6 separate regions of the Homo sapiens genome follow, and regions 2, 3, 4, 5 and 6 are each linked to region 1. The links are contacts of gene promoters, found by promoter capture Hi-C in human tissues and cell types (Jung and others, 2019). All regions are on one chromosome and are shown on one strand. The core of a region is centred on a gene start or on the middle of the fragment in contact, and the rest is flanking DNA. Distances in the headings are between cores, read along the strand shown.

The links. The method cuts DNA at HindIII sites, captures the fragments that hold promoters and counts their contacts. A contact is called where the count stands out against the background at its distance.
Region 2: a contact is called between the fragment with the promoter of GAMT here and the fragment with the promoter of ADAT3 in region 1, in 1 of the 25 tissues and cell types used here (spleen).
Region 3: the fragment with the promoter of RPS15 here is called in contact with the fragment with the promoter of ADAT3 in region 1 in 1 of the 25 tissues and cell types used here (dorsolateral prefrontal cortex).
Region 4: a contact is called between the fragment with the promoter of AMH here and the fragment with the promoter of ADAT3 in region 1, in 2 of the 25 tissues and cell types used here (dorsolateral prefrontal cortex and spleen).
Region 5: a fragment that was not itself captured here is called in contact with the fragment with the promoter of ADAT3 in region 1 in 1 of the 25 tissues and cell types used here (dorsolateral prefrontal cortex).
Region 6: a contact is called between a fragment that was not itself captured here and the fragment with the promoter of ADAT3 in region 1, in 1 of the 25 tissues and cell types used here (dorsolateral prefrontal cortex).

Annotation. Positions count from the first base shown.
Region 1 is chr19:1,903,259-1,907,830 of GRCh38, reverse strand. It overlaps ADAT3 (adenosine deaminase tRNA specific 3), which reads right to left and starts at 2,432. Exons shown (of 2, transcript NM_138422.4): 1 at 2,392-2,432. It overlaps SCAMP4 (secretory carrier membrane protein 4), which reads right to left and starts at 2,432. Exons shown (of 7, transcript NM_079834.4): 1 at 2,392-2,432. RefSeq lists enhancers at 1,929-2,018, 3,039-3,098, 3,379-3,438 and silencers at 2,179-2,328, 2,379-2,708. The HindIII fragment of the contact is 31,876 bases long and covers 1-4,572 here.
Region 2 is chr19:1,400,016-1,404,587 of GRCh38, reverse strand. It overlaps GAMT (guanidinoacetate N-methyltransferase), which reads left to right and starts at 3,046. Exons shown (of 6, transcript NM_000156.6): 1 at 3,046-3,292. The coding sequence starts at 3,112. RefSeq lists a silencer at 2,729-3,308. The HindIII fragment of the contact is 15,848 bases long and covers 874-4,572 here.
Region 3 is chr19:1,435,074-1,439,645 of GRCh38, reverse strand. RPS15 (ribosomal protein S15) reads right to left here and starts at 1,250. Exons shown (of 4, transcript NM_001018.5): 1 at 1,218-1,250; 2 at 754-839. The coding sequence starts at 1,220. DAZAP1 (DAZ associated protein 1) reads right to left here. Exons shown (of 12, transcript NM_018959.4): 12 at 3,962-4,572. RefSeq lists enhancers at 1,007-1,226, 635-1,505. The HindIII fragment of the contact is 20,902 bases long and covers 1-4,572 here.
Region 4 is chr19:2,246,001-2,250,572 of GRCh38, reverse strand. AMH (anti-Mullerian hormone) reads right to left here and starts at 1,250. Exons shown (of 5, transcript NM_000479.5): 1 at 829-1,250; 2 at 94-236. The coding sequence starts at 1,240. It overlaps SF3A2 (splicing factor 3a subunit 2), which reads right to left. Exons shown (of 9, transcript NM_007165.5): 6 at 3,771-3,820; 7 at 3,551-3,691; 8 at 2,911-2,979; 9 at 1,918-2,806. The coding sequence ends at 2,027. RefSeq lists promoters at 1,241-1,272, 1,241-1,450, 1,241-1,520, 1,272-3,306, 1,241-4,239 and enhancers at 1,168-1,307, 3,362-3,863, 3,162-4,239, 4,493-4,572. The HindIII fragment of the contact is 11,600 bases long and covers 1-4,572 here.
Region 5 is chr19:2,209,522-2,214,093 of GRCh38, reverse strand. It overlaps DOT1L (DOT1 like histone lysine methyltransferase), which reads right to left. Exons shown (of 28, transcript NM_032482.3): 13 at 3,584-3,694; 14 at 3,239-3,473; 15 at 2,882-2,995; 16 at 2,252-2,343; 17 at 454-555; 18 at 108-245. It overlaps DOT1L-AS1 (DOT1L antisense RNA 1), which reads left to right. Exons shown (of 2, transcript XR_007067087.1): 2 at 1-2,066. Among named protein-coding and RNA genes, the nearest start is that of DOT1L-AS1, 3.8 kb to the left of the region's middle. The HindIII fragment of the contact is 3,245 bases long and covers 528-3,772 here.
Region 6 is chr19:1,604,888-1,609,459 of GRCh38, reverse strand. It overlaps UQCR11 (ubiquinol-cytochrome c reductase, complex III subunit XI), which reads left to right and starts at 3,998. Exons shown (of 3, transcript NM_006830.4): 1 at 3,998-4,100. The coding sequence starts at 4,051. TCF3 (transcription factor 3) reads left to right here. Exons shown (of 19, transcript NM_003200.5): 19 at 1-168. RefSeq lists enhancers at 789-858, 889-938, 2,421-3,042, 3,498-3,807 and silencers at 3,868-4,127, 4,178-4,247. The HindIII fragment of the contact is 3,073 bases long and covers 566-3,638 here.

The sequences.
Region 1 (4,572 bases), core at 1,183-3,682:
CGACTGCCCCCCAACAGCAGGGGGCCACCTGACCCTCCCTCTACCACACCCACCCAGAAGGCAGGCGACCGACCACTGGGACCCCTCAGGAGGGCAGGCAGCCCAGGTCCCAGGTCCCAGCAGAACACGGCCGCCAGCCTGGGCTGGGAACCGGCATAGCTCCAGGCAGGTGAGTCAGACCCTGCGTGGTGACAACCCTGGTGAACAGGAGGCTGGGAGGCCTTTATCTAAGCCCACAGATGAGGAGGCCAAGGTCCGCGCCGGGACCTGGGTATGTCCACCCAGAAAACACACCCAGTCCCCAACCTGCCCTAGAGGCGTTCAGCCCAGCGCGGTCAATTCCTGACTGCGAGAACTCAGGCACCAGTCCTGACTCCTCCAAGCCTCGGCTTCCACCCCTGTGAAATGGGAATTCCTGCTCTACCTTTTTTTTTTTTTTAAGGCAGGGCTGTCAGGTACATAAGAGAAAATGGGGGGATGGAGGGGCCTGACCATCTTCAGCAGAATCCAGGAGGGCTCCTCGGAGGCAGTGACCCACAGCCCAGCCTGGAAGGCTGGGGAAGTAGGGGAGAGAACTCGGAGAGGGAACAGCTAATGCTCAGTTCCAGGGCACACCAATAGTCTGCGTGGGGGCTTTTTTTTTTTTGGGACAGTCTCACTCTGTCCCCCAGGCTGGAGGGCAGTGGCGCGATCCTGGCTCACTGCAACCTCTGCCTCCCTGGTTCAAGCAATTCTCCTGCCTTAGCCTCCCAAGCAGCTGGGACAACAGATGTGCACCACTATGCCTGGCTAATTTTTTATATTTTTAGTAGAGGTGGGATTTCACCATATTGGTCAGGCTGCTCTCGAACTCCTGACCTTGTGATATACCTGCCTAGGCCCCCCAAAGTGCTGGGATTACAGGCGTGAGCCACTGCGCCCAGCCTGGGGCTTGTTTCTTTACACACACACACACACACACACAATTTTTTTTTTTTTTTGAGACGGAGTCTCACTCTGTCGCCCAGGCTGGAGTGCAGTGGCACGATCCTGGCTCACTGCAAGCTCTGCCTCCTGAGTTCACACCATTTTCCTGCCTCAGCCTCCTTTGGGAGTAGCCGGGACCACAGGCGTCCACCACCATGCCTGGCTTTTTTTTATTTTTAGTAGAGACAGGGTTTCACCGTGTTAGCCAGGATGGTCTTGATCTCCTGATCTCGTGATCCACCCGCCTTGGCCTCCCAAAGTGCTAGGATTACAGGCGTGAGCCACCACGGCCGGCGCTACACGTATGTATTTTATTTATTTATTTAGAGACAGGGTCTCGCTCTGTTGCCCAGGCTGGAATGCAGTAGTGCCATCACAGTTCACTGCAGCCTCAACCTCCGGGGCTCAAGCAATCCTCCTGCCTCAGCCTCCCAAGTAGCTGGGACCACAGACATGTGTCACCATGCCTGGCTTATTAAAAAAAAATCTTTTTTTCTTTTTTTTGGAGAGTGAGTCTTGCTAGCTTGCTCAGCCTGGAGTACAATGGTGCCATCTTGGCTCACTGCAACCTCCACCTCCCAAGTCCAAGCGATTCTCCTGCCTTGGCCTCCCCAGTAGCTGGTTTTACAGGCGCGTGACACCACGCCCAGCTAATTTTTGTATTTTTGGCAGAGATGGAGTTTCACCATGTTAGACAGGCTGGTCTCGAACTCCGGACCTCAGGTGATCCACTCGCCTTGGCCTCCCAAAGTGCTGGGGTTATAGGGTGAGGAACTGCACCCAGCCGTCCTTGTTTCCACGGAGTCGATCCTCTGTTTCTGGCCACCCTACAAGGAGGCCTTCTCTGCAAGACAGCGGGGAACCTCGGTCCTCGGGGTAGTGTGTGGGAGATAACTGGGGGCCTGTGATACAAAAACCTGAAAAACTCATACTCTAGGTAACGATGAGGAACGATGGTCAATTCTGGGGATGTACCAAGGCCTAGGGGAATCTCCACATAAAGGCGAATCAGAGCTGGGGAGGAAGGACGCGAAGGCTACGGAAACTCGCGAGAGCGCGGTTCAGAGGCAGGGGACTGCGGGACATGACCTGAGGAAGGGCCACCGGAAGCAGCTGGAGGATACGGGGTCTCCCGCACCGACCATAAGGGCGCACACGCGCAGAAAGGCGCTAGGCCCGGGGGAGCGCGGTCCTGAGGCTTCCCCCAGGCCAGCGCCGCGCGCGCGCGCGCACGCGCATTCGCGCCGCCTCCCCGCGTCGCCCACCGGCCCGCCCGAGACGCGCGCGAGGCTGGCCTGGGCCCCCCGTTTTCTCCCCACAAACGGCCGGCGCCCCTCACCGCCGAGACCCCCCATGTCAGCCCCTACTCCCCCTCTGGGGAAGTCTGAGCCTGGAGAACCCGAGACCTCGGGGCCGCGCGCTTACCTGAGGGATCCGGGCGCGAGCGCAGCGCTTCGCCAAGTCTTAGCAACCGGCCCGGCCCAACCCACCTCACCCCGCCTCGTCTCCGCCTGGAGCCGCGGAGCACGACGGGAGCGTAGTTCCAGGGGCGGGATCTTCGCCAGGCCAAGGTGGGGCAAGGACTACAATTGCTAGTAGGCACTGCGCGCCGCCGCCTCGCCCCGCCCCGCTCCGGCACTGCGCTCACATGACCTCCGGGCGGCGGGAGGGGAGGAGAGGCGGGGCCGCTGCGCTGGGCGAGCGCTGAGTTTGCAGGTTCGAATCCCATCAAGCGGCCAGGGAAAACTCGGAACCCGGGGGATCTTTGGAAGGTTAGCAGAGTGGGAAGGATGAGGCAGAGGGGGTATATGACACCCGTCCCCTGAGTCCGGGATGGGGCCAGGTTCCAGTTCTGCCTGTTACTGCACTCCGGCGTGGGCCGCCCTCAGGTTTGAGTTTTCTCACCAGTAACGTAGGTGAAGAAGACCTCTTGCCTCTCCTGGGCCAAACAAGCACATTTTTTTTTTTTTTTTTGAGACGTAGCCTCAGTCTGTCACCCAGGCTGGAGTGCAGTGCTAGGCTCACTGCAACCTCCACCTCCTGGGTTCAAGCGATTTCTGGCTAGTTTTTGTACTTTTAGTAGAGAAGGGGTTTCACCAAAACATGCATATTTTATGAGCAATTTGTTACTCCTTCCAGTTGGACAGGTTTAACCAAGTGGTTCTCAACGGGAGGGAATTTGTCATCCCCTCCCCCAACAGCTTGACAGTGCCTGGCTGTAACCAGCTCAGGCTCCGATGCCAGAGTCTTGACAAACCAGTAAGGAGGAAAAAGTGCAGTGAAAGGAAGGTGACTTCCTTTCAGAGTTCGCAGCAGGGAGGCAGCTGGTTTAGGCCTCCAGAAACCCCTTCAAACTTGAGGCTGGGGTGAGGGGCTAAAAAAGGGGAACTGGGAATGGTGGGTGTGCAGGGGAGGTGCTGATTATAAGCTCTGTGTGTTCATGAATTTTGGTGGCTTAAAAGCGCAGGCTGGCCTCATCCTAATAAGGGCCGGGTTGCAGACCACCTTGAGGAAATCTCTGGGATTTTGCAGGTGGGTCTCCGTGCTTGGCCTGTCTCCAGATTAGCTCTAAAACGTTCTTTCTTTTTTCTTTTTTTTCGAGACAGTCTCGCTCTTGTCACCGAGGCTGGAGTGCAGCAGCACGATCTCAGCTCACCGCAACCTCCACCTCCCAGATTCAAGTGATTCTCCTGCCTCAGCCTCCCGAGTAGCTGGGATTACAGGCACACGCCACCACACCTGGCTAATTTTGTATTTTTAATAGAGATGGGGTTTCTCCATGTTGGTCAGGCTGGTCTCAAACTCCTGACTTCAGGTGATCTGCCCGCCTCGGCCTCCCAAAGTGCTGAGATTACAGGCGTGAGCCACCGTGCCCAGCCTGTTCCTGGAACTTTTAGGTAATCACATAATTAGATGCATACAGTTAGGTAAACCTGCAGAGTGTGAGGGAGTTTATGGTGAGAAAGGGGAGGACGTGTTTCAAAGAAAGTGCATTTCAAGGTCGGATGCGGTGGCTCATGCCTGTACTCCCAGCACTTTGAGAGGCCAAGGTGGGTGGATCACCTGAGGTCAGGGGTTCGAGACCAGCCTGGCCAACATGGCGAAACCCCATCTCCACTAAAAATACAAAAATTAGCCAGGCATGGTGGCAGGGGCCTTTAATCCCAGCTGCTGGGAAGGCTGAGGCAGGAGAATCACTTGAACCCGGGAGACGAAGGTTGCGATGAGCTGAGATCGCACCATTGCACTCTGTTGCCTGGGCGACAGAGTGAGACTCCATCTCAAAAAAAAAAAAAAAAAAAAAAAAAAAAAAAAACAGCATTCCAGGAAACTATTTCGCTCTCAGTTGCTTTCTTTTTTCCTTTTCTGAATAAAAACTCAGACTGCTGTGAGTTTCACTTTTTCTTTTTTTAGCTTAAATACACATCTCTCCATCCCTGGATGCCTCATGCAAACTAGCCAAGAGCCCCTGTTTTGCTGATTTGTTTTAAAAAAAAAAAAGACAGCCTTTATTTGGTAAGTCATTAAATCCAAAGCCCAGATTCTCTGCATCTAAAAAAATGAATCTAGGCCAGGCATGGTGGCTCGTGCCTGTAATTCCAGCAC
Region 2 (4,572 bases), core at 1,797-4,296, 500 kb after region 1:
ACTCCAGGGCAAAGGCAGCGAGAAAAAGGCTGTGCAGATACTGATCTGAATTTACTCCCAGTGTGACTATAAACAGATCCAACACACGGTATGTAGTTTTGGTCCCCTTTTTTTCTTGTGGTAAAATATATGTGACATAAAATTTTCCATTTTAATTATTTTTGTTTTTATTTTATTTATTTATTTTGAGATGGAGTTTCTCTCTTGTTGCCCAGGCTGGAGTGCAATGGCTCGATCTCGGCTCACCACAACCTCCGCCTCCCAGGTTCAAGTAATTCTGCCTCAGCCTCCCGAATAGCCGGGACTACAGGCACGCACCACCACGCCCGGCTAATTTTGTATTTTTAGTAGAGACGGGGTTTCTCCATGTTGAGGCTGGTCTCGAACTCCTGACCTCAGGTGATCTGCCCGCCTTGGCCTCCCAAAGTGCTGGGATGACAGGCGTGAGCCGCCACGCCCGGCCCCATTTTAATTATTTGTAGGTGCACAGCTCATTGGCATTAAGCGCATTCCCATTGTTGTGCAACCATCACCGCCGTCCTCTCCAGAACCTTCTCATCTTCCCAAACTGAAACTCTGCCCCGTGAAATACTCACTCCCTGTCCCCTCCCCAGCCCCTGGCACCCCCCCCCCCCGCCATCCTACGTTCTGTCTCTGTGGATCGGAGGACTCCAGGGACCTCCTAGGAGTGGACTCACATAGGATTTGTCCTGTTGCGACTGGCTTATTTCACTGAGAGTGATGTTCTCTGCAACCTCCGCCTCCCGGGTTCAAGCGATTCTCCTGCCTCAGCCTCCTGAGTAGCTGGGATTACAGGCACCCACCACCACGCCCAGCTATTTTTGTATTTTTGTAGACATGGGGTTTCACCGTGTTGCCAGGCTGGTCTCAGGGGATCCGCCCACCTCAGCCTCCCAAAGTGCTGGGATTACACGCGTGAGCCACCGCGCCCGGCCCTGGCTAATTTTTAAAACTTTTTTTTTTTTGTAGAGACAAGGTCTCTGTGTGTGGTCTAAGCTGGTCTTAACTCTTGCACTGAAGCAATCCTTCTACCTCGGCATCCCAAAGTGGTGGGATCACAGGCCTGAGCCCCTGCACCTCCCCCAGGCACTGGGATCACAGGTGGGAGCTGCTGCACCCAGCCTATCAAGCATGTTCTGTGTGCCAGGATCACTGACAGCCCTGTGAGAGGGACGCTAGGACCATGAAGAAATACCTTCCGTTAGTGAACTACCAAAGAGAGAGAAAACAGCTTCTGGCCGGGTGGGTGCGGTGGCTCACACCTTGCAATCCCAGCACTTTAGGAGGCCGAGGCGGGTGAATCACGAGGTCAGGAGATCAAGACCATCCTGGCTAACATGGTGAAACCCCGTTTCTACTAAAAATACAAAAAAAAAAAAAAAAAAAAAAAATTAGCCGGGCTTGGTGGCGGGCGCCTGTCATCACAGCTACCCAGGAGGCTGAGGTAGGAGAATCGCTTGAACCCGGGAGGCAGAGGTTGCACTGAGCCAAAATCATGCCACTGCACTCCAACCTGAGCAACAGAGTGAGACTCTGTCTCAGAAAAACAAAAACAAACAAAACAGCTTCTGACCAGGACATGCCTGTCCTGGGGCAGAATGGGGGTGTCTCCTAGAGGACACGTGGGCTCAGCTTGAGACAGAACGAGAAAGCGGCCTGACCAGGAGAGAGGCTGTCTGGGCAAGGGGAAGAGCGTGTGCCAAGGCCCGGGGCTAAGGAGCTGTGCAAGAGGTGGCAGGGGCATGTGGAGGCGTTGAGCAGGCAGTGATGGGGCAGGCAGCTACCCAGACAAGGTGGCGCAGGGAAGGCCGCGCGCGGGAGCTGTTTCCGAGGCTGCCTGCGTTCACACCGTGGCCCTGCTGCAACCTGTGAACCTCAACCTCTCTGGGCCTCAGTTTCCCTCGTGTTAAATGGGCATAATAACTGCATCTGTTAACCCGTGCAGAACGCACGGCAGGCAGGCAGGCAGGCAGGCAGGCAGTGCTCAGGGCTCATGACTGTGGCCCCACGTTCAGAGGGGGAAGGAAACCGGCTATCAGAGCCAGGACGCCACCGCAGCGGGCTTGGGGGCCCCCAGGAAACAGGCGGGGGGTGTGCTTGACCCTAAGGGGCTACCCTGGGCTGGGGGAGGCCTAATTCCACCCCCGCACACCCCAGCTGCAGGGCCGCCGGAGGAAAGGGCACTGCTGGGATTGAGTCCTGGTCTCCAGAACTGGAGGCGTCTTTGGGCGGAATCCCCCATTAGGGACCCGGGGTCTCAGATGACCCCCAGCCTATGGGGGTGTGACATGGGCTCATGAAAGGGGGGCATCAGAGCTCTAATGCTGGGTCCCCACCCTCGTGGCCACCAGACCACCGGCTTTGCTTCTCAAAGCCTCAGTTTCCACATCTGTAAAATGACAGTCGGCTGCTCTATGGAGTAGCCATTCATTTTTATTCCTTAATAAACTTGCTTTCAAAAAAGAAAGGAAGGAAGGAAGGAAGGAAAAACGACAGTCATCATAGAACCTGGCGGGCGCGGTGGCTCACGCCTGTAATCCCAACACTTTGGGAGGCTGAAGCGGGAGGATCGCTTGCGCCCAGGAGTTTGAGACCAACCTGGGCAACATAGCAAGACCCCGTCTCTATTAAAAAAAGACAGAACTCACTGTAGCATCTTCTGAAGATTAAATGATTTTAAACACTTAAAGCACTTCCAACAGCGCCTGGAAGATCCTCAGATTCTCACACCCCAGCGAGGAGGGGGCCTTTCTGCGGTGCTGACAGATGAGGAATCTATGGCGCGTAAGCGGCAAGGCGGGGATTCCAGTCCCCAGCCTGCAGGTTCGCGTCCCCGGGCGCGGGGCTGCGGTGCCCGCTCCGCAGAGGGGGCACCGAGGCTCCTTGGGGAGGGGGCGGCCGGGGCCCCGACCCCACTCCCGCCACCTCTCGCGTGGCCGCCGCTAGAGGCCGCTCCCGGAGCCGCGCGCGCGCGTCCTCTCGCGGGTCCGCCCCCCGGGCCTGTTGGACCCGCCCCCGGCCCACAAGCCCCTGCAGGGAGCGGGCCCGGGCGGCGCGCGATCGAGGTCGGGTCGCCGTCCAGCCTGCAGCATGAGCGCCCCCAGCGCGACCCCCATCTTCGCGCCCGGCGAGAACTGCAGCCCCGCGTGGGGGGCGGCGCCCGCGGCCTACGACGCAGCGGACACGCACCTGCGCATCCTGGGCAAGCCGGTGATGGAGCGCTGGGAGACCCCCTATATGCACGCGCTGGCCGCCGCCGCCTCCTCCAAAGGTAGCCCCCGCCCGGCCTGCACCGCCCCCGGGGGCGCAGGGGAAACTGAGGCCGGGGCTGCCCCGACCCGGGGACTCTGCAGCCCACCCTCCCGCCGGGGCGCCTCTGTCTCCTCGCCTGGGAAGTGGGGCTGCAGGTGGGGGCACACGGAGGCGTTCACGGGGAGTGCGGCAGGCGTGGGGCCCGCACACGTTAGGCACCGCCTAAGTACCAGAAACTTCCTCTCCAGGGGGAGTGAGGCCCCCCGCTCTCCAGATGGGGACCTCAAACGTGAGACCTGGGTGAAACTGGGTGGAACCGGGTCCCCAGCTCCCTGTCTGAGGTCGGGAGGAAGGGGTCGTGCCAGGGAGAGGCTGCCCTTCTGCCTGCCTGGGAGAGCAGCCCCGACTCGCCCGGCTAAGAATAGCACTCGGAAAGCTGAGCTCAGGGAGACAGCTGTCCCCGGGGTGGCCCTGGCCTGCCTGGCGTCAGACGCTAAGGGCTGCTAAGAAAGGACTCCCTGGCCCCACACAGGCCCCGTCCAGGGGTCGGGCCTCAGTGTTCCCACCCTGAAAATGGGCACGTCCAGTGTCCAGTGCCAATCAGGATTGAGCGGGGGGCCCATGTGTGGCCCACTGGGGACCAGTCCTTCCCCTCCCAGATAGTCTCAAGTCCAGGTCTTGCCTGGCCACTCTTGCAAATCCAACTTTCGGATAGAGGGAGGGGGAGAGAAAAGTAACTAACCCGAGAGATAAGGGACCCGGGACAAACAGCGTGGGCTGGGCTCAAAGTCCAAGGCTCTCGCCTCCCCACAGGCCTGGCCCCAAAAGCGGCCGTCTTCGGCCTCCCTGGCTGGTCATCCTCTCTCTGGCCGCTGGCCAGGGCCCACGCTGTTCCCGCTCAGGACTACTGTGTTCCGCCCGCCTCTGTCCATGCTGGCCCAGGGTGCCCTCCCGTCCTGTGGCAAATGTGACTCACATAGCCTAGTTCAGCCCTGCACCCCCTCCTCCAAGCAGACCCCCAGCTCAGCCCTGCCCTACCCTGTGCCCCCTCCTCCAGGAAGCCTCCCCAGCCCTGCTCTGCACCCCCTCTTCCAGACAGCCTCCCCAGCCCTGCATCCCCTCCTCCTGGCAGCCTCTCCAGCCCTGCCCCGCACCCCCTCCTCCAGGCAGCCTCCCCAGCATTGCCCCACACCCCCTCCTCCAGGCAGCCTCTCCAGCCCTGCTCTGCACGCCCCCCTCCAGGCAGACCCCCAGCCCAGCCCTGCGCCCCCTCCTCCAGGCAGTCTCCCCAGCCCTGCC
Region 3 (4,572 bases), core at 1-2,500, 470 kb after region 1:
AGGCGGGAGGGTCGCTTGAGCCCAGGAGTTCAAGACCAACCTGGACGACACAGAGAAACGCTGTTTCCACAAATAATCAAAAATCAAGGTCGGGCGCGGTGTTCACGCCTGTAATCCCAGCACTTTGGGAGGCCGAGGCAGGTGGATCACCTGAGGTCAGGAGTTTGAGACCAGCCTGGGCAACACTGAAACTCGTCTCTACTAAAAATACAAAAATTAGCCGGACGTGGTGGGGGGGCCCTCTAATCCCAGCTACTCGAGAGGCTGAGGCAAGAGAATCGCTTGAACCCGGGAGTGGGAGGCTGCAGTGAGCTGGGACGGAGCCATTGCACTCCAGCCTGGGCGACAGGATGAGACTCCGCCTCAAAATAATCAAAAATTAAAAAATAAAAGCGCAAGCCAGATGCCCACCACCACCCTGCCTGGAAAGGACCCAGCGACCTCCACCGCCCTTAAAATCTAAGGAGTCTAACGCAGCCCCTTATTCTAAGTCACGTGGGCTACAGACAGGGGCTACACCTTCCAACTAAGCCGCGGAAAAGTGAACAACGGGGGGCAGGTTGCAAATAAGCAAAAACCTCAACGTCTCTGGACAGTTTTCTGGGCGCAAGACCACACTCAGTTCCAAACCCGCGCGGAGACCGTGCCCGCCCACCGCCGCAGAGGCGCTTGGACCCCCGCCCCGCCGCCCTCACCCGGACAAGCCCCACCGCTGGCCCAGCCCCTGCCCGCGACCCCCGCGGCCGCCCTTACTAGGACATGTCCAGCAGCTGGTCGAGGTCCACGCCGCGGTAGGTGAACTTGCGGAAGGTCCGCTTCTTCTTCTGCTCTACTTCTGCCTGTGCGGGCGCGGATCGGGCGTCAGCGGGATCCCGACACCCATCTCCCGGGGCCACCGGGCCCGAGGACACCGCGGAAGACGCGCGGCGCCGCCGGGGACAGAAGCCCGACAGGGACACACCGCTTCGACCCGTCCCCGGGGATCACTCGCGGCTCCGGGTTACGAGGACCCGGACATGAAGGCCCGGACAGGCCTTCCCAGCCCCGCGTCGTCCCGACACCCACCAAGTCCGCCCCTCGCCCCAACATCCAGCCGCCTGCAGGGTCGGGAGCAAGCCGCCGTAGCCGCGGGGACGAACTGCGGCCCCCGCGAGACGGTCAGAGGTTGGATGGAGCCGGATAGGCCCGGCAGAGACGCGCCAAATCGCAACACTCACCATCTTGCCGGATCCTCAGAAGAGATCGCTTTGGTCCGCGCCTGCGCAGTTATCGCGAGACTGCCGGCATGTCCCGCCCCCTCGGCCGTGCGCGCACACGCGCTTCCGCTTTCCCGGCGGCGAACACGCGCCCTCTGCCGTCTGGAGGGCAAAACACAGGCTGCAGGGATTAGAGCAGCCGCCGCCTGAGGTCTGCAGAGCCGCTTCCTCCACGGAGTGGGACTTTGGACAAGTCGCCGCCCCTGTCTGAGCCTCGGGTTCGTGCTCCGTCATCTACACGATGGCACCCACATCAACAAGTATTTATGGAGCGCCTACCGTTTGCTCGTAGGTGCGGTTTGGCGGTTCAGGTCCCACTGTGGGAGGAACACGAGAATTCATTACAGATACTGGAGCAGGGACAGGGCCTCGCTGAAAAGAACCATTCCGGCTTTAACAGATAAAATTTTGTATATAAAGTTAGTAAGGACAACACAGTGAGACTGCCTCTCTACAAAAAAATACAAAAATTTGTGTACACACGGACATAAAAGAATAAAAAGTACAAAAAATTCCCAGCTACTCGGGAGGCTGAGCCTTCAGCCCAGGAGGTCAAGGCTGCAGTGAGCCGTGATCGCGCCAACGGCACTCCAGCCTGGGCGACAGAGCAAGACCCTGCCTCAAAAATAAAGTTAGGAATATCACTGGGTTTGTTAAGATATGTAAATGTAATGTGAATAATGATAGCTCAAAGAGAAGGAGTAACTAGAACTATGTAGGAGTGACTTTTTTTTTTTTTTGAGACAGAGTTTCACTCTTGTTGCCCTGGCTGGAGTGCAGTGGTGTGATCTCGGCTCACTGCAACCTCTGCCTCCTGGGTTCAAGCGATTCTCCTGCCTCAGCCTCCCAAGTAGCTGGGATTACAGGCACCTGTTACCGTGCCCGGCTAATTTTGTATTTTTAGTAAAGACACGGTTTCTCCATGTTGGCCAGGCCATGTTGGTCTCGAACTCCTGACCTCAGGTGATCCACCCGCTTTGGCCTCCCAAAGTGCTGGGATTACAGGCGTGAGCCACCGCGCCTGGCCTAGGAGTGATGTTTCTGTATCTTACTGGAATTAAGTATAAAGTTGAAGGTGACTATTAACTATGGATGTGGCACCTGGCTGGGCGTGGTGGCTTATGCTTGTAATTCCAGCACTTTGGGAGGCCGAGGCGGGCGGATCACCTGAGGTCAAGAGTTCAAGACCAAGCTGACCAACCCTAACTCTACTAAAAATACAAAAAATTAGCCAGGCGTGGTGGTGGGTGCCTGTAATCCCAGCTCCTTGGGAGGCTGAGGCAGGAGAACCGCTTGAACCCGGGAGGCGGAGGTTGCAGTGAGCTGAGATCGCACCACTGCACTCCAGCCTGGGCGACAGAGACTCCTTCTCAAAAAAAAAAAAAAAAAAAAAAAAGAAAAAGAAAAAAAAAAAGCACAAAACCTCTGGGAACCCGAGCTTAGCTGTGGCACTGTCCAGGGAGCTGAGCTCTCCCCAGCCGTCCCCACAGTCCCAAGGGAAGCCAATTACACTGTACTCAGGGAGGGCTGAGTCTCCGTCCCGAGGAGCACAGGACCTATGTGTCGGGCCCGTCCATGTTACCCATTTTCCTGCAGCAGAGTGTCCTGGCTGGAAAGCTGATTTTGTGAGTGCTGCTCTTTGGCTGGGGGAGCTAATGTAACGGGAGGGGCTGACACTCAACACCATGATGACCTGTGGTGTGGATAGACAGCCGCCCCCGCCTGGCCCTCCTGGGAGCTGGGGCAGCAGCTCCTGAGGACATGGGAGAAGGCTCTGACGGCAGGGAATGGAGCTGGCTTCCTGGGCTGAGGCGTTGAGGGGTACTGTCTCAGTGAGGAAACTGCACTGCACAGGGATGTTGGGGGTACCCCTTCTCTTGGTTCTCTCCAAACTAAGTCAAACCTTCCCTGTCCCCAAAATATGAACTGGGGCGGGGGGGGGTGGTTCTGGCTGTCGCCTGAACAGTCTCACGCCTGGCACGCTGTAGGCTTCCAGTTTGGGACTTCATGGTCCTTTTTTTTTCTTGTTTTGTTTTTTGAGACGGAGTTTCGCTCTTGTTGCCCAGGCTGGAGTGCAATGGCGCAATCTCGGCTCACTGCAAGCTCCGCCTCCCAGGTTCAAGCGATTCTTCTGCCTCAGCCTCCCAAGTAGCTGGGATTACAGGCATGCACCACCACACCCGGTTAATTTTTGTATTTTTAGTAGAGACGGGGTTTCTCCATGTTGGTCAGGCTGGTCTCGAACTCCCGACCTCAGGTGATCCGCCCGCCTCGGCCTCCCAAAGTGCTGGGATTACAGTCGTGAGCCACCGCGCCCGGCCCTTTTTAAGTCTCGCCTTCCCTGCCACAGTGACAGAGTATCCCTTTCCAAAGATGCCCCTGTCCTAATCCCCAGAACCTGGGGATATGTCACCTTCCATGGCAAAAGATATGATTAAAGGTCTTGAGATGGGAAAAGCCTGGAGCCCACATTCCCCGAGAAAACTGGTGGTGGCCACATCCTCAAAGTCACAGCATCCCAAGACCCACTGAGGGATGGGCCCAGCTCGCCACTCAGCCTCTGCCCTGAAGCCCTCGGGGTTGCTGAGACCACCAAGAGCCAAGGGGAGGGCGAGGGCGCCTCCGTCGCGTTTCAGACCTTTCCTAGGCACTGGAAGGGTAGGCACAGGCCAAGACCAAGGAGGGAAAAAACGGACACAAAGTGGTTTCTAATCCAAACGCACTTCTCTTTATTCAAACCAGGGTCAAACTGGTCAATGGGAAACGCCCTGAAGCCACGTGCCTGGGGAGAAAGGCTTCCTACTCGGTTCGGTTCAGCGCTGCGTGGGATCCACGCGGCTGGCTGTGCGCAACCCCCACAGTTCACCTCAGACACTACCAAGCAGGTCAGTCGACAAAAGCAAGGAATTAAACAAAAAACAGAAATACACTCAGTAGATTTCTTCTAGAAGCTCCCAGAGTTTCTGGACCACCAAGTCCCAACCCCCAAAGCCAGGAGCGAGGGGACTAACAGCGCACCCCCTCCACCAGTGCCGACGGAAACCCCGTTTTAAATTAAAAAATAAGCCAGTATACATCGTAGAAAATTTCTCTTAAAAATCTCACAATTTGTAAATGTATATTTTTTCTTTAACATAAAAGTTTACAATATACCGTAAAACAAAAGGCTCAGGAAAATAATTTCCAAAAAAAAGGAAGAAAAAGAAACCTGAAGTTTTGAATTAAAGCTGAAGACATTTTTTTTAAACCCTGTTGTTGAACCAGTGACTTTTTTTTATTGTGCTGATGGGTTAGAGAAAGAAATATTTAAAAACCT
Region 4 (4,572 bases), core at 1-2,500, 340 kb before region 1:
CTGGTTCTACGCTGTTCTCAGTACTGCAGACCCTGCAACAAATCCATGCCCCCCGCCACGGCCCGGGCACTGCCCCATGCAACTCCCTGGTACCTGGGCACCCGGCAGCCCAGCCCTCGTCACAGTGACCTCAGGGCCAGGCCCAGGGTACAGCACCAGCAGCGCCAGCTCTGGGGGGCCAGCTCCTCCAGGCGGGGGCTCCTGGAACCTCAGCGAGGGTGTTGGCTCCCAGGTCACTGCAGCCGGGACAGCAGGGGACGCCTGAGCCATTGAAGGCCACACCCCCCGGGAATCTTTGGGATCTGTCCCTGCCGCTCTGGCCACTGTGCAGGGGACCTCAAGCGGGGGACAAGGGTGCCCCTCTTAGCTGCCTTCCTGCAGCCAGGGAGCGGTGACGGCAGGGGCAGGCAGGGGCTGCGTCTGAGGCTGTGGGTGGGGCTGCCGCCCTGGGGTCTCTGGGTTGGGGTGCCCGATGAAGCCCCTTCCCCGCAGGGAGTATCTTAGGCCAGCGGCCCTGAGAACAGGCTGGGGCTGTGGGAAGAAGGGTTCCACTGGCCCCGAGCCCTGCGTCGTCTTCAGGGGTGGGGAGAAGGCAGCAGCTCTCTCCCTGGCACCGAGGCAGGGGCAAGTCTAAGAGCTGGGCTTCGGGGACAGGACAGAGTGTGGTGCCCACCTTCCAGGCCACGGACCCGCAACCCAGTCCTAGGAACAAGACCACAGCCTCCCTGCCCAGGGTGGGGGCTCTGCCAGCCCCTGATCTTCCCTAGGAGGACCCGGCCCACCTGAAGGAAGACGGCGGTGCCAAGCTTGGGGCTGGGCCCCACATACCTTCCTCCAGGTGTAGGACCACCAGGCGCTGCCCCCCAGGGTCCCGCAGCCAGGCCCCCAGCCGCCGTAGAGAGGGCAAGGCAGCCTGCCTGTCACCGGTGTTGCAGACCCCGAAGGTGGCCAGGTCTCGGGGGCCCCAGCGGGCCCTCTGCACGGCCCCCAGGAAGGCCTGCTCATAGGCGCTTAGAGCCCCCACCACCCGCAGGGGGGAGCTGCTGCCATTGCTGTCCCCGCCCAGTGCCACCAGGCACAGAGGCTCTTGTGGGCTGCCTGGAGGCCAGTCCAAGTCTTCTCGGAAGATGAGGCCACTGGTGCCCACAGCTGGCTCCTCTGCTCTGAGGGCCTCAGTCCCCAGCAGAGCCCCCAGGGCAGACAGCACTAGGGCCAGGCTGGTGAGAGGCAGGTCCCGCATCGTGGGTGCTGCCAGGGGCTGGGCTGCCTGCCTTAAGTGAGCCGAGTGGAAGGTGGGGTGTTTGTGCAGGACAGACCCCTATCTCCTCTGCCGCGACCTTGGGGGACAGTGCCCGGCGCCCCCACTCCAGGCAGAGTGGCCTTCTCAAAGAGCCCTTTCTGTCCCTGGCAGCCTATCTCCCTCCCCAGTGATAGAGCTGGGCCTGATGTGTCAACATGCCGTCCTTGAGGGCCATCCCCAGAAGACACAGGAGTGGGAACCAGGCTGGGAGTGACGGCCAGGCAACCAAACTAGACAGCGCTGGGGGCGGGGGGCCCAGATGTCCTGGGTGCTGAGGTGTGGGCCTGGAGGAGGAGGGTCCCAAGTCAGTGGGGGCGCCCTGTCCCTGCTCACCCTCCCCACCCCTGGTGGGCTATCTGGAGACCCCAAGGATATCGTGGAGTCTGCTCTTCCCTCCCCAGAACAGGACCCCAGATCCCCTCCTAGCTGGCTGGTGGGGTCTGTCCTCCACCAGGCCATCTCCAAGGTACAGCCATCTCTCAGGCCTCCCACAGGTGTCTCCTGGCGGGCCCCAGGCCCTCCCCAGTCGGCCCAAACTGGGGGATGGTGCTGTGCCTGGCACTCCCACACACACTGACACAGTAGGGCGGCGCTGCGGACATCAGTGCACTCAGGGCTGGGGGAGGCTGTTTAATGAGCGGGGGGCAGTACAAAAGAGCAGCCTTCTCTCAGTGGGAAAAGGCAAGAGCACCTGGCGCTGGGCTTGCTGGGGGAGGGAGCAGCTTCTCAGTTGGTTGGGGGAGGGGGAGGTATGTTCCCTGGGCCTTCGGAGGGAAGTGGGGGCCTCAGCATTGGGGGCATGGGAGTTGGGGGGTGCACCCCAGGATTTGAGGGGTGAACTCCCGGAGGCTGAGGGTGGACCCCAGGAGCCGACGGATGGACCCCGGGAGGTTGGGGGTGGACCCCCGGGGCCTGAGGGTGCATCCCTGGGGCTGGTGGGTGCACCCCTGGGGCCTGAGGGTGAACGGCGGGGGCTGCTGGGTGCACCCCCGGGGCCTGGGGGTGAACCCCCGCTGATGGGGGAGGATGGACCCCTGGGGCTGGTGGGTGAACCCCAGGGGCTGGTGGGTGGACTCCGGGGGCTGGTGGGTGAACCCCGGGGGCTGGAGGGTGGACTCCAGGAGCTGGGGGGTGGACCCCAGAGGTTGGTGGGTGGACCCCAGGGGCTGGGGGATGGACGCCAGGAGCTGGGGGGTGGACGCCAGGAGCTGGGGGATGGACCCCAGATGCAGGGGGATGCACCACTGGGGCCGGGGGGTGGACCCCTGGAGCTGGCGGGGGTAGCTGGGGTGGTCCCGGGGGCCCTGAGGGCGCAGGCCCTGTGGGGGGCATGGGTGGCAGAGGCAGGCCTCCTGGCGGGGGCGGTGGCAAAGACTCAGGCAGCGGTGGCCGAGGGGGCAGACCGTTCATCAGCGGGGGTGGAGGCCGCTTCACCCCAGGGGGGCCAGCAGGGAGGCTGGGTGGAGCCGGGGGCTTCTCCATCTTAAAGTGGAACTGGAGGAAGAACTAGAGAGACGGAGAAAGGTTCAGCAGGCACGGGTGGGGCTAGGGCAGGGCTAGGGCCGCCAGGGCTGGGTGGGAAGGAGCCAGGCTCGGGGCGAGCCACTCACCTGCTTGGTCTCCCGGTTCCAGTGTGTCCAGAACTTGCCCTCCGCCTTGTCGATCTCTCTGCTCGGCACCTGGGAGGGCGGGGGACAGAGAGGGCTCCTGGTCCCTGTGACCTCAGGGCGACCATCAGGCAGGGAGCCCGAGGCACTAGCCTCCCCAGCCCGGACTCTACCCTGGGAGCCCAGGAGAAGGCTGGTAAGACTTTCGTGGGGCACAGGGTTCAGTTCTGGAGTGAAACAGACCTGGCCTCAATGCTAGCACGCTGTTGGCCCCCTCCCTGGGCAGTCACCGTTTGTATTATTTGTTTCCTGATGGCCGCCCTGTCCAGGCATGGGGACAGGCTGTAGGAAGCCCTCCAGCAGCCTGGCCCAGGAAGTGAGGTCACTTGGCAAAGGCCTCACAGGCCTGGCGCTCAGCCCTGCCGGCCTCCCTTCTCATTGGCCCAGTGGAGCCCAAGCAGGCCCTCCTGCAGAGCCCAATGGGAGAGGTGCCCTGCCCGGCCTGTGCAGACCCTTCTGGCTCCGACTTGGGGGGGGCCCAGGGGACCCCAAGCCCGATGGGAGGGGCATCCTGCCCAGCCTATGCAGATCCTTCTGGCTTGCACATCTCAAGGGGGCCCAGGGAACCCCGCAGCCACGCTACCTTGAAGGCAATGGTCTCGTAGGGCTCGGCGGCCATGAGCAGGTACTGCCAGCGCCGGTCCGGAGGCTCGATCCTCTGCTCGTACGCAGACATGAAGCGGTGACGTGGCATGATGCCCTCGGCGATCTCAGGGTAGTCAATCTGCAGGGACACGGCCGGGTGGCAGAGCCGCCTCTTGGGTGCCTTTGGCCGCCCCCCACGCCCAAGTCCCTGATCTCACCTGGAAGAGGAGGCTCTGCTGGCCCATCTCCGAGTCTCTCTGCTTGGTCACTGCAACACAGAAAGCTCTCAGGTCCCGGCTGCTTGTCCTCTCCGAAGCTGAGGAACCTGGGGCAGGCTAATGCCACCCACTGAACGAGAGCGGGACCCCGGGGGAGGCCCTGCAGCTCTGGCAACCATTAGACAATCTCCGCCCAGGCTCTGGGATTCTGGTATAGGTGAAGGCACAGGTGCGCCAGAGCTGAGCTACCTGCGGAGTCACTCAGGCAGGGACCGAGGATGGTGCTCCTTTGTCCCAATCCCCAGAGCCCTTCACCAGGGGTGCTGGGATACCACCCAGCAGGAGTTGGGGCCACTGGGTAGGGAGGGGCCCTCGGCACCCTGGCTCTGGGATTCGAGCGGGGCCGCCTGAACAGGGCTGACACCATGTATACGGTGAGCGAGAGAGGATGCCCTTCCCGCCAGAGCTCAGCAGCCTGGACCCCGAGAATGGCTGCTGGGCTGCCTGCCGCCCGGCCACTCTCCATGCGGCCTCAGACACGCACACTCACAAGCCCTCTGCCGCCTCACCGTCCTGAGCCCAAGCCCAGGACCTGTCAGGGCCTCCCCACCAGGAGCCTGCCGCTCTAGCCACCCTCGCCCACCCGGTGCACCTGCCCCGGGACCTCTGCCCTGCAGGCTTCTGTCTGGAGGCCAGGCACACAGGCTGTCCCCGCCTTCTGTAAAGAACACTTGCTGGGTAGCGTGCCCGCCTTCCTGAACCCTATGGACACAAGTCTCTATCTTCCACCCTGGTCACTTCC
Region 5 (4,572 bases), core at 901-3,400, 310 kb before region 1:
CACAACAGAGGCGGGCCTTCCAGAGCCTCCCACCCGCACAGAGGACACACCCGCCCAGGCAGGGCCCCTCTGGTTCCACGTCCCTGTCCTTGCGCCGCGGCACCCACCAGCTGCAAGCTCTGGCCGCGGAGCGCGCGGTTGTCCTGCTCCAGCTGCTCCGACTGCTCCCGCAGCTGCTGGTTATGGGCGGAGATCTCCTTCTGCGCTTGAATCAGGTCGTTGTAGGTCAGCGCCTTCACACCCAGCTGGGGACATGGGGCGGGGGAGAGGTCATGCTGGTGGCCTCCAAGGTGAAGTAAGCCCCCAGGCATGACCACCCCTGCAGCCCAGCCCCTGGGACACAGCTGGACAGAGGCATAGACAGGAAGCCACAGGAAGCCATACCGACGGACATGGACCACCCCAGCCTGCGCCCCAGCTGCCACCTGCCACCTGCCCTCTGGGGTCCACTACCTCATCCAATTTTTGCTGAAACAGCCTCCTGATCTCCTCCTTCTGGGCCTGGCAGTGGCTGAGGAGCTGCTGAGCCGCACCCAGGAGCTGGGCGTTCTTCTCCTGTAGGACAAACAGGGCAGGTGACTAAGGGCCAGGGCAGGTGACTGAGGGCCCACAGGGAGGGCCCACGCCCTGCCTCTCATGCTTCCTGAAGACACGCTCAAGGACAGACATGCCTGAGGGGACCCACACCGGGCTGAGATGTCAAGAAATACTCAGGCCACGGCGGGAGGGGACCAGCTCTGCATCAGGTTCACTGCAAAGAACTCTCGCCAGCTGGAGGGACTGCACCTGCCACCCCACCTGGACTCAGCCAGGGCAGCGCCCCCAGCCACGCAGAGGCCGGCCAATGCCAAGGAGTTTATCCCAAGGCAATACCAGGGGATGGACTTTTCACATGGATCTGCAAGGAAGCCTTCTGCAGCGTAACAGCAAACACTCAGTGTCCGGAGGCCCACCTCCAAGGGAAGACCCCAGGAGCCACTGACACAGGACAACCTTCAGACACCAGCAGAGAACAGGGCCCCGGCCCAGGCATGCTGTCAGCTACACAGTGAGCAATGCATGTGCATATATGCTCAAAGCACGCTGTAAGCTTTTTTTTAAAAGCAAAGCCAAAGTCCAAAATGCAAACCAGGGCTCAGGGACAGCCGACCTTGTGGCTCCAATGGCTTTTGGAGTTATCTCTGGGCCGCCAGAACTTCCACCCCATAGCCCGGCCCTAGCTCCCCACTAAAGCAGGTCCTCGGAGACTCCCAGGGCGGGGCCCCACAGCCGGGACCTCAGGTGAAGGAAATCATGTATACAGTGGTCCATTTCCAGGACAAACTGCCTTGAATTGGCTTAGGTCAGCAAACTACAGAAGAGACAGCATGTACTAGGCCCCTGCTTGGATCGCTGATGCCTGCTTGTCAGCCTCCCCTGCCCCCGCTTCCCCCGGCTTAGTTGCCCTCACCCGAACCAAAGAAGTTTAGCCTAAGATGAAGGTTTACCAGCCTGCAAAAGAGCTGGCTTTGTCTGTTCTTAATCAGCCTGCCCAGCTACTTAGATCATAAGTCAAATACTTGAACAGTCCCTGAGCTGACTGGGATTGCAATGCACAAAATGCAGCAGGACAACCCTAAAGAAAACACCTACAACCGGGCGTGGTGGCTCATGCCTGTAATCCCAGCACTTTGGGAGTCCGAGGCGGGAGGATCACGAGATTAGGAGATCAAGACCATCCTGGCCAACACAGTGAGACCCCGTCTCTACTAAAAATACAAAAAATTAGCCGGATGTGGTGGTGGGTGCCTGTAGTCCCAGCTACTTGGGAGGCTGAGGCAGGAGAATGGCGTGAACCCGGGAGGCGGAGTTTGCAGTGAGCCGAGATCACACCACTGCACTCCAGCCCCTGCCGAACCAATAGGCGACAACTGGGAAGACTGTGACCTCACAGTACTCAGCCTTTGAGGAACCGGGGGAGGGACCTGTGCACTAGGGGGAAGGTTGCTTGTTCAAACTGTGCTGGGTGTGCCTATCAGACACCAGGTCTTGCAAAACCATGATTAAAAGTCTCATTTTCGCTGTTTTCCGGGTCTCTCAGTCCATTCTTTGGGTTTAAACGGGTAGGTTTGTTTCTCGCAGCAGGTGAGCAGAGGAGGGAGCCCACTCAGGCCTGCGCTCCAGGGCCTCTGCCACAGGGGACAGATGCCCAGGAACAGGAACGAACTGCCTCTGTGCGGGAAGGCGGAATGCCAAGGGGGCCAGGACCCACCTTCTCCTGGCCCAGCAGCTCCTGCAGGCTGGCCTTGTACTGGGGGGTCTTTGTGTATGCCAGGAACTGCAGGTACTGGATCTTGAAGGACTCTGGGAAGAGAGGCGGAACACAGGTGAGAAGAGAGCAGCTGAGACTGAGAGGGAAGAGGTGGGAGCAGCCCTTGAGAACGAGTCCCAGGCCTCGGCAGGTGTCAGGCACTCATGAGGCAGGAGCTCAGCAGAGCCTGGCGGGGCCCATGCCACACGCCCCAAGCTCGCAGAGCACTCAGGCCCTCTGACCCCTGCGCAGCCAAGTGTTCACCGCGTGGGGCCATCCTGGGCACTGCAAGGCCCTGAGCAGCATCCCTGGCCTGCACCCACCCCATGCCAGCAACATCCCTAAGTTATGACAACTGCAGACGTCCCAAGTGTCACCCAGCATCTCCTGGGTAAGACCTCAGACAACCCACAGGCTGCATCTGAGCCTCTACTGACCCCTGCAGCAGGCAGACCCCAACCCTGGGTAAACTTCAGTGGGGTCCAGCATGGAGGTCACGGGGGCTGCTGCGAGGTCAGCGTCACAACCCACGGTCCTCCTGGGATGACCCCAAGCCCAGAACCCTTCGCCGGACGCCTCACACGGGCTCACCTAGAAGCTTCTGCAGCGCGGGCGGGGTGGGCGCCACCAGCAGCGGGTTGGGGGAGTGCCGCTGCACGCTCGGAGGTAGCTGGTAGAACGGGCTGTGAGGGGATCTGTAGGCATCTGGGAGAGCGGAGGGCAGGCGTCAGCACAGGGCGGGTCGGGAGAGCGGTGGGCAGAGGCGTCAGCATGGGGCAGGTGCCCAGCAACCCCTTAGGATGGGGCCACCCTGAAGGCACAGCCACAACAGGGAGGCTCCAGGGACACCCTGAACACACGGGGCTCAGGAGGGCAGCGTCCCAGCAGAGGGGACCCCAGGCATCCGCACTCGGGGAGAGCGGGGGCCGTGGCGTGGGGGCGGCTCACCCTGGGGTGAGGAGGCCGCCGTCTGAGACACGGTCTGAGCGTGCAGGGCATCCAGTGCAGTTTGGTTCTTCTTGGGCTTCCGCTCGGGGTTCGCAGTGTTCATCTTCTTGGGGCGCCCGCGCTTGCGGCCAGCCATCTTCCTCCCCTTCTTGTTTAGCTTCTTCTTGCGGGCTTTGGAGGGAGACGGCTTCTTCACGGTGGCTGCTCCCGCCTTCTCTTCCTCAGCACCAGAGTCCTGGAGGACACAAGGGAAGAACAGGGATGGGCACAGAGCCTCCCACCCATGGGGTCTCCCGGGCAGGGGGCGGGTGCCCTCCAGCAGCAGGAGCCAGGCTGGGGCCTTACCATGGGGGCGTCGGCGGGGCCGGCCACCTTGCCCTCTGGGCCCTTAGTGGGCGTGGCCGCGTTGCTCTTGCTCTCGCGCTGCTGGCGGCGCCGGGCTGCCTCCTGTTCCTCCTGGAAGGAGAGCAGGTTGAGCCACAGGAAGCCCCAGCGCTGCCCACGGCCCTCCTGCACCGAGAGGCACGCGGAGCTCAGACTCAAGGGGGCCACGGGCCCAACTCTGTCCACTGCAAGTCCTCTGTGGCACAAATCAGGAAACTGAGGCCCAGAGACAGCAGTGGGCTGCTTGGGGCCCCGCAGGCCAGGACGTGACCCGTGGGCACGGATAACGGCATTCACAGCCACTCCCACAATCACAGATGCCTGTCAGTAAGAAGCCAGACTGTGAGCCACAGAGAAAAAGAACCACATCCAAGACAGGAGACGAGAAGCCCCTCAGGCAGCAGGACCTAGAAGCCACAGCCCACAGCCTCCCCTGCCCTCTCTCCTCTCTTCGAAAGGCACCGAGGCCCACACATGGGACGCCATGCACAAGTTCTCTGATGTGAGTTAGTGGAGGGCGCGACCCACGGGAAGGGGAACACAGGGTGCGCCGGCCACCTCGGGCCGTTCCCTGCTCTCCAGGGAAGACCCACATCCCCCTAAGCATGGTGGGAAGGACAGAGGGCCCCCGAGGGGTACCAGGCTCTGAGGCCGGGTTGGAGCCCAGCCCTGGCTACAAATCCAGGCAGTGACAGAGCCCTTCCTGTACGGGGTTCTCCGCATGCTGGTCTTGTCTGACCCCCTCCAAAAGGAAAGGACGCCCGGACAAACATCCTCTCAGCTTTGGTGGCAAATAAGCAGGCAGGTCTGAGGCTGCAGAAGCGCCAGCGGGCAGGGCGGCCACTGTGGCTCCCCAAGCCAGGCTTTCCCACCGCTGCTTTAAGGTGGGAGAGGAGGGGACAGCCCTGCCTCCGACGGTGCAGCGCGTGCAGGGCGCGGGGGCCCAGGAG
Region 6 (4,572 bases), core at 853-3,352, 300 kb after region 1:
GCCTCAAGATGGTTTTCAAAAAAATTTTTTTAAAGAAAATAATTGTATACGTGTCAACACAGCTGGCTGGATGATTGGGACTTTAAAACGACCCTCTTTCAGGTGGATTCAGAGACCTGTCCTGTATATAACAGCACTGTAGCAATAAACGTGACATTTTATAACGATGCCCTGCAGTCCCCGGGTTCTTTCTGGTGTCACATGTTTAGGAAGGGAAGTGGGGGGGGGCCCTGACGTTCACCTCGGGTGCAGCAAGGACCGTGGTCCACCCTGTGCACTGGGCTTCCTCGAAGCGACTCCTCACTCTGAGGAGCCCATGGCTCCCAGGGCGGCTGGGAACCTGCATGTGTACTCAGGGCTCCAGGCCACCTGGAAGCAGGATTGGCTCCCGGGGAAAAGCAGCTCCCTGGGGGCTGCACTTGGGCGCGTAGGAACCATCCAGGACCTGCGGTCCTCCCAGCCCCCATCTGGGAGGGCTCCCCATCTCCCAACGTCCCCCCCCCGGGCTGTTGGAACCCACTTCCCTGCCCCTTCCTGCTCCGAAGTCGGCTCGAAGTCTGAGTCTGTCACTGCTCCTCTGAAACCTTCCACGGCTCCGTTGCTGGCAGCGTCAACCCCACACTCCTTAGTGCGGCATCTGTGACTTCCTCCACAACCGGATGCCCACGGAACCCACGGACAGAGCTCTCGGGGGGAAGGGGTGTGGCAGGACCTGTGGGGGCGCTGCTCATCCCAAAGTGCCCACTGGCAGGCATCTGCTGCTGTGCCCAGGGACTTGGCCGCTGCATCTCTGCGAGGACACAGCTGGACTGCCCTGCTCCCCTACAGGGTTGGGGTGGAAGGAGTGCCTTCCTGGCCACTTGACGGGGGGTGGCCCCCAGGAGAGAGCCCTTTGGCACACAAGTGCCTTAGGGAGGAGAAGGCTCAGCACAGTGACTCATATCTGTAATCCCAGCACTTCAGGTGGCTGAGGCGGGAGGATCGCCTGAGGCCAGGAGTTCCAGTCCAGCCTGGGCAACATAGTGAGACCCCATGTCTATAATTTTTAAGGGAAAGAGAGTGGCCAGGAGTTGACAGAAGGTGCTGAGGGAGCCCTGTCCACCACTCTACCCAGCTGGCCTCTAAATTCATGCTGGAAAACAACTTTTAAAATATACATTGGCCGGGCGCGGTGGCTAACGCCTGTCATCCCAGCACTTTGGGAGGCTGTGGCGGGTGGATCACTTGAGGTCAGGAGTTCGAGACCGGCCTGGCCAACATGGCGAAATCCCATCTCTACTAAAAATACAAAAATTAGCCGGGCATGGTGGCGCAAGCCTGTAATCCCAGCTATTTGGGAGGCTGAGGCAGGAGAATAGCTTGAACCCAGGAGGCAGGGATTGCAGTGAGCTGAGATTGCACCACTGCACTCTAGCCTGGGCGACAGAGCGAGACTGTCTCAAAAAATCAAAATTAAATTGGTTGTACCTGGTGACACACACTTGTAGTCCCAGCTACTTAGGAGGTTCAGGTGGGAGGATCGCTTGAGGTGGCAGTGAACTGTGATTGCACCACTGCACTCCAGCCTGGGCAACAGAGCCAGAACCTGTCAAAAAAAAAGGGTGGGCCAGGTGCAGTGGCTCATGCCTGTAATCCCAGCACTTTGGGAGGCCAAGGCGGGCGGATCACGAGGTCAGGAGATCGAGACCATCCTGGCTAACGGTGAAACCCCATCTCTACTAAAAATACAAAAAATTAGCCAGGCGTGGTGGCGGGCACCTGTAGTCCCAGCTACTCGGTAGGCTGAGGCAGGAGAATGGCGTGAACCTGGGAGGCGGAGCTTGCAGTGAGCCAAGATCATACCACTACACTCCAGCCTGCAGCCTGGGCGACAGCAAGACTCCGTTTCAAAAAAAAAGGGTGGAGGGGACATCCAGATGGTCCAACAAAATAACAAAAACCGGCTCAAGAAACAAAAAGGAAGTTCTATGTCATGTTGAATGGCTTCAGGCACAGCTGGATCCAGGTGTCATTACAAATCTCTCTCCATCTCTCAGCTCTTGTTTATGTCACTGTCTCTGATGAACTCTTTTTTTTGTCTGTTTGTTTTGAGACGGAGTTTCACTCTTGTTGCCCAGGCTGCAGTGCAATGGCGTGATCTCGGCTCACCGCAACCTCTGCCTCCCGGGTTTTCAAGCAATTTTCCTGCCTCAGCCTCCCGAGTAGCTGGAATTACAGGCATCCGTCACCATGTCCGGTTAATTTTGTATTTTTAGTAGAGATGGGGTTTCTCCATGTTGGTCACGCTGGTCTCGAACTCCCAGTCTCAGGTGATCTGCCCGCCTCAACCTCCCAAAGTGCTGGGATTATAGGCGTGAGCCACCGTGCCCGGCCACTGGTGAACTCTTACATTGTGGCATCTGGAAACTCTGGGCTGACATTCCAGCAGCCCTTGTGTTCCTGTCCTTTCTCTTAATAGTCTCTGTGTCAGCCCCTGCATCCCACTTTTTTAAGTTTCCACCAATGGGAAGAGTCTTATTCAGGTGCTCTCTGATCCCAAGCTCAAAAACCCCAAGCCAACTGGAAAGTTCTACAAACAATGCCCAGGGCCGGGCCCGGTGGCTTACACCTGTAATCCCAGCATTTTGGGAGGCGGATCACTTGAGGTCAGGAATTCAAGACAAGCCTGGCCAACATGGCCAAACCCCATCTCTACTAAAAATACAAAAACTAGCCAGGTGTGGTGGCTCACGCCTGTAGTCCCAGCTACTTGGGAGGCTGAGGCAGGAGAAGCTTGAACCCGGGAAGCGGAGGTTGCAGTGAGCCGAGATCGTGTCATTGCACTCCAGCCTGGGCCACAGAGCGAGACTCCGTCTCAAAAAAAAAAAGAAAGAAAAACAGTGCCCAGACTGTGGTGTCCAAAACCTATTTCCGGCTCCCACCCTGAGTCCTTAACCAGGGATAGGGATGGGTTAGCACCCGCAGTCCCCAGAGAGCTGCAGGCTTGGGGTGTACTGAGGGGCTGACCCCAGGAGGACAGGCCAGGCTGGGCAGAAGAACCCACGGTGTCCATTCCTTATCACGAGGCCTGCAAGTGACGCTGGCGCCCGAGAGACAAATCACGCCCAGTGCCCCGTCTAGGCTATGGCCTTTCCGTTCATGCTGTAAAGGTGCCTGTGGGTCAGGCAGTCCAGGAGGGCTTCCTGAGGGAGGCAACTCTTGAATATGGGGGAAAAGGCACAAAAGTGCAATGGCGGTGTCTGGGAATATGCCCCTCTTCCTTCTGCCCACACCGGCCCGGTGTGCAGGGGGGAGGCTGGAAGCTGGGAGCTGAGTGAGCATGTACGGTGCTGCGCCGGGTTGTGGGAGAGCAGAGGAAGCAGGGACTGGAGAAAGGCGAGCCCAAGCGAGCCTGGTGCGGTGGAAAGCAGGAGGCAGAAAGACCTGCCTGTCATCAGCTAAGAGCATCCAGAGACGTTCACCGAGCAAGGAGCCAGGCCACCCTCTGCTGCCGGAATGAGGAATAACCCAGGCTCGCAAACGGAATCCTGCAAAGAGATTTCCGACAGGGCCTCCAAGCAACGGGCAACGCTGAGGCTCAGGGAAGCACTGCCGCTCGACCAAAGTCCTACAGCGAATCAGGAACAACGCCTGACGCCTCCAAAAGTGGGCTCCAATCCCAGCTCTTCCCCTCTGTGTGACTCTGAGCAAGACCCTTCCCCGCTGGACCTCAGTTTCCTTCATTGTAAATAACGTTCTGGCACATACTAGGCGCACAAAATCACTGGCAGGTAGCCCCGCGGAGCCCAGAAGCACAATCGGCCGCCAGACCACGTGGCCAGAAAGCACCGCCCTAACGCCGCCCACTCCGGACCACTTCTCCGCGGTCGTCCAACCCTCGCCGGAAGTTACTGTAAGTGGCTTCCGGGTCTGCGCGCACAGTGGCGGATGATGTTTTTTTTTCCTCCCCCCCCCCCCGCCCTCCCCGCGCGCGTGCGCGCCGCGGCCGCGCCTGCGCAGTGTAGCCGGGTCAGCTGGACAGGGTCATCCTGAGGGTGCGACTCCGCCGCGATGGTGACCCGGTTCCTGGGCCCACGCTACCGGGAGCTGGTCAAGAACTGGTGAGGACGCCGACCCGCGGCCCCATCCGCGCTCCCGCCTCGGCCCAGCCCCGCGCCGCTGCGTTCCGTATTTGTGCGCGTTTCCGGGGGCCGGGCCGGGCCGGGCCCAGGTCCCTTGTTGTTCCCGGTGACAGAGGGGGAAACTGAGGCCGAGAGGCGGAGCGGCGCGTCCCGGCGTGAACGGGACGTGACGGACCCAAGGCCAAACCCCAGCATGCCCGGCTCCGCGGCTAGGCCGCTCCAAGCCTCAGTTTCCCCATCTCTACCGGGGGATCCGAATGGTGACCCCCTGGACGGAAGCGCCCAGAAGGTGCCGAGTCCCGATCCCCAGCCCAGCACTCGCGGCATCTTCGGCCTTTGCCACTATTTTGGTTTTTATGATTTTTAACAAGGAGCGTGAAAGCTTCAGCTGCGCCTGAGCCCACGTGGGCAGCGGGACGGCATAGGGGTGGCCCCCATAGAAGCCGGGCTG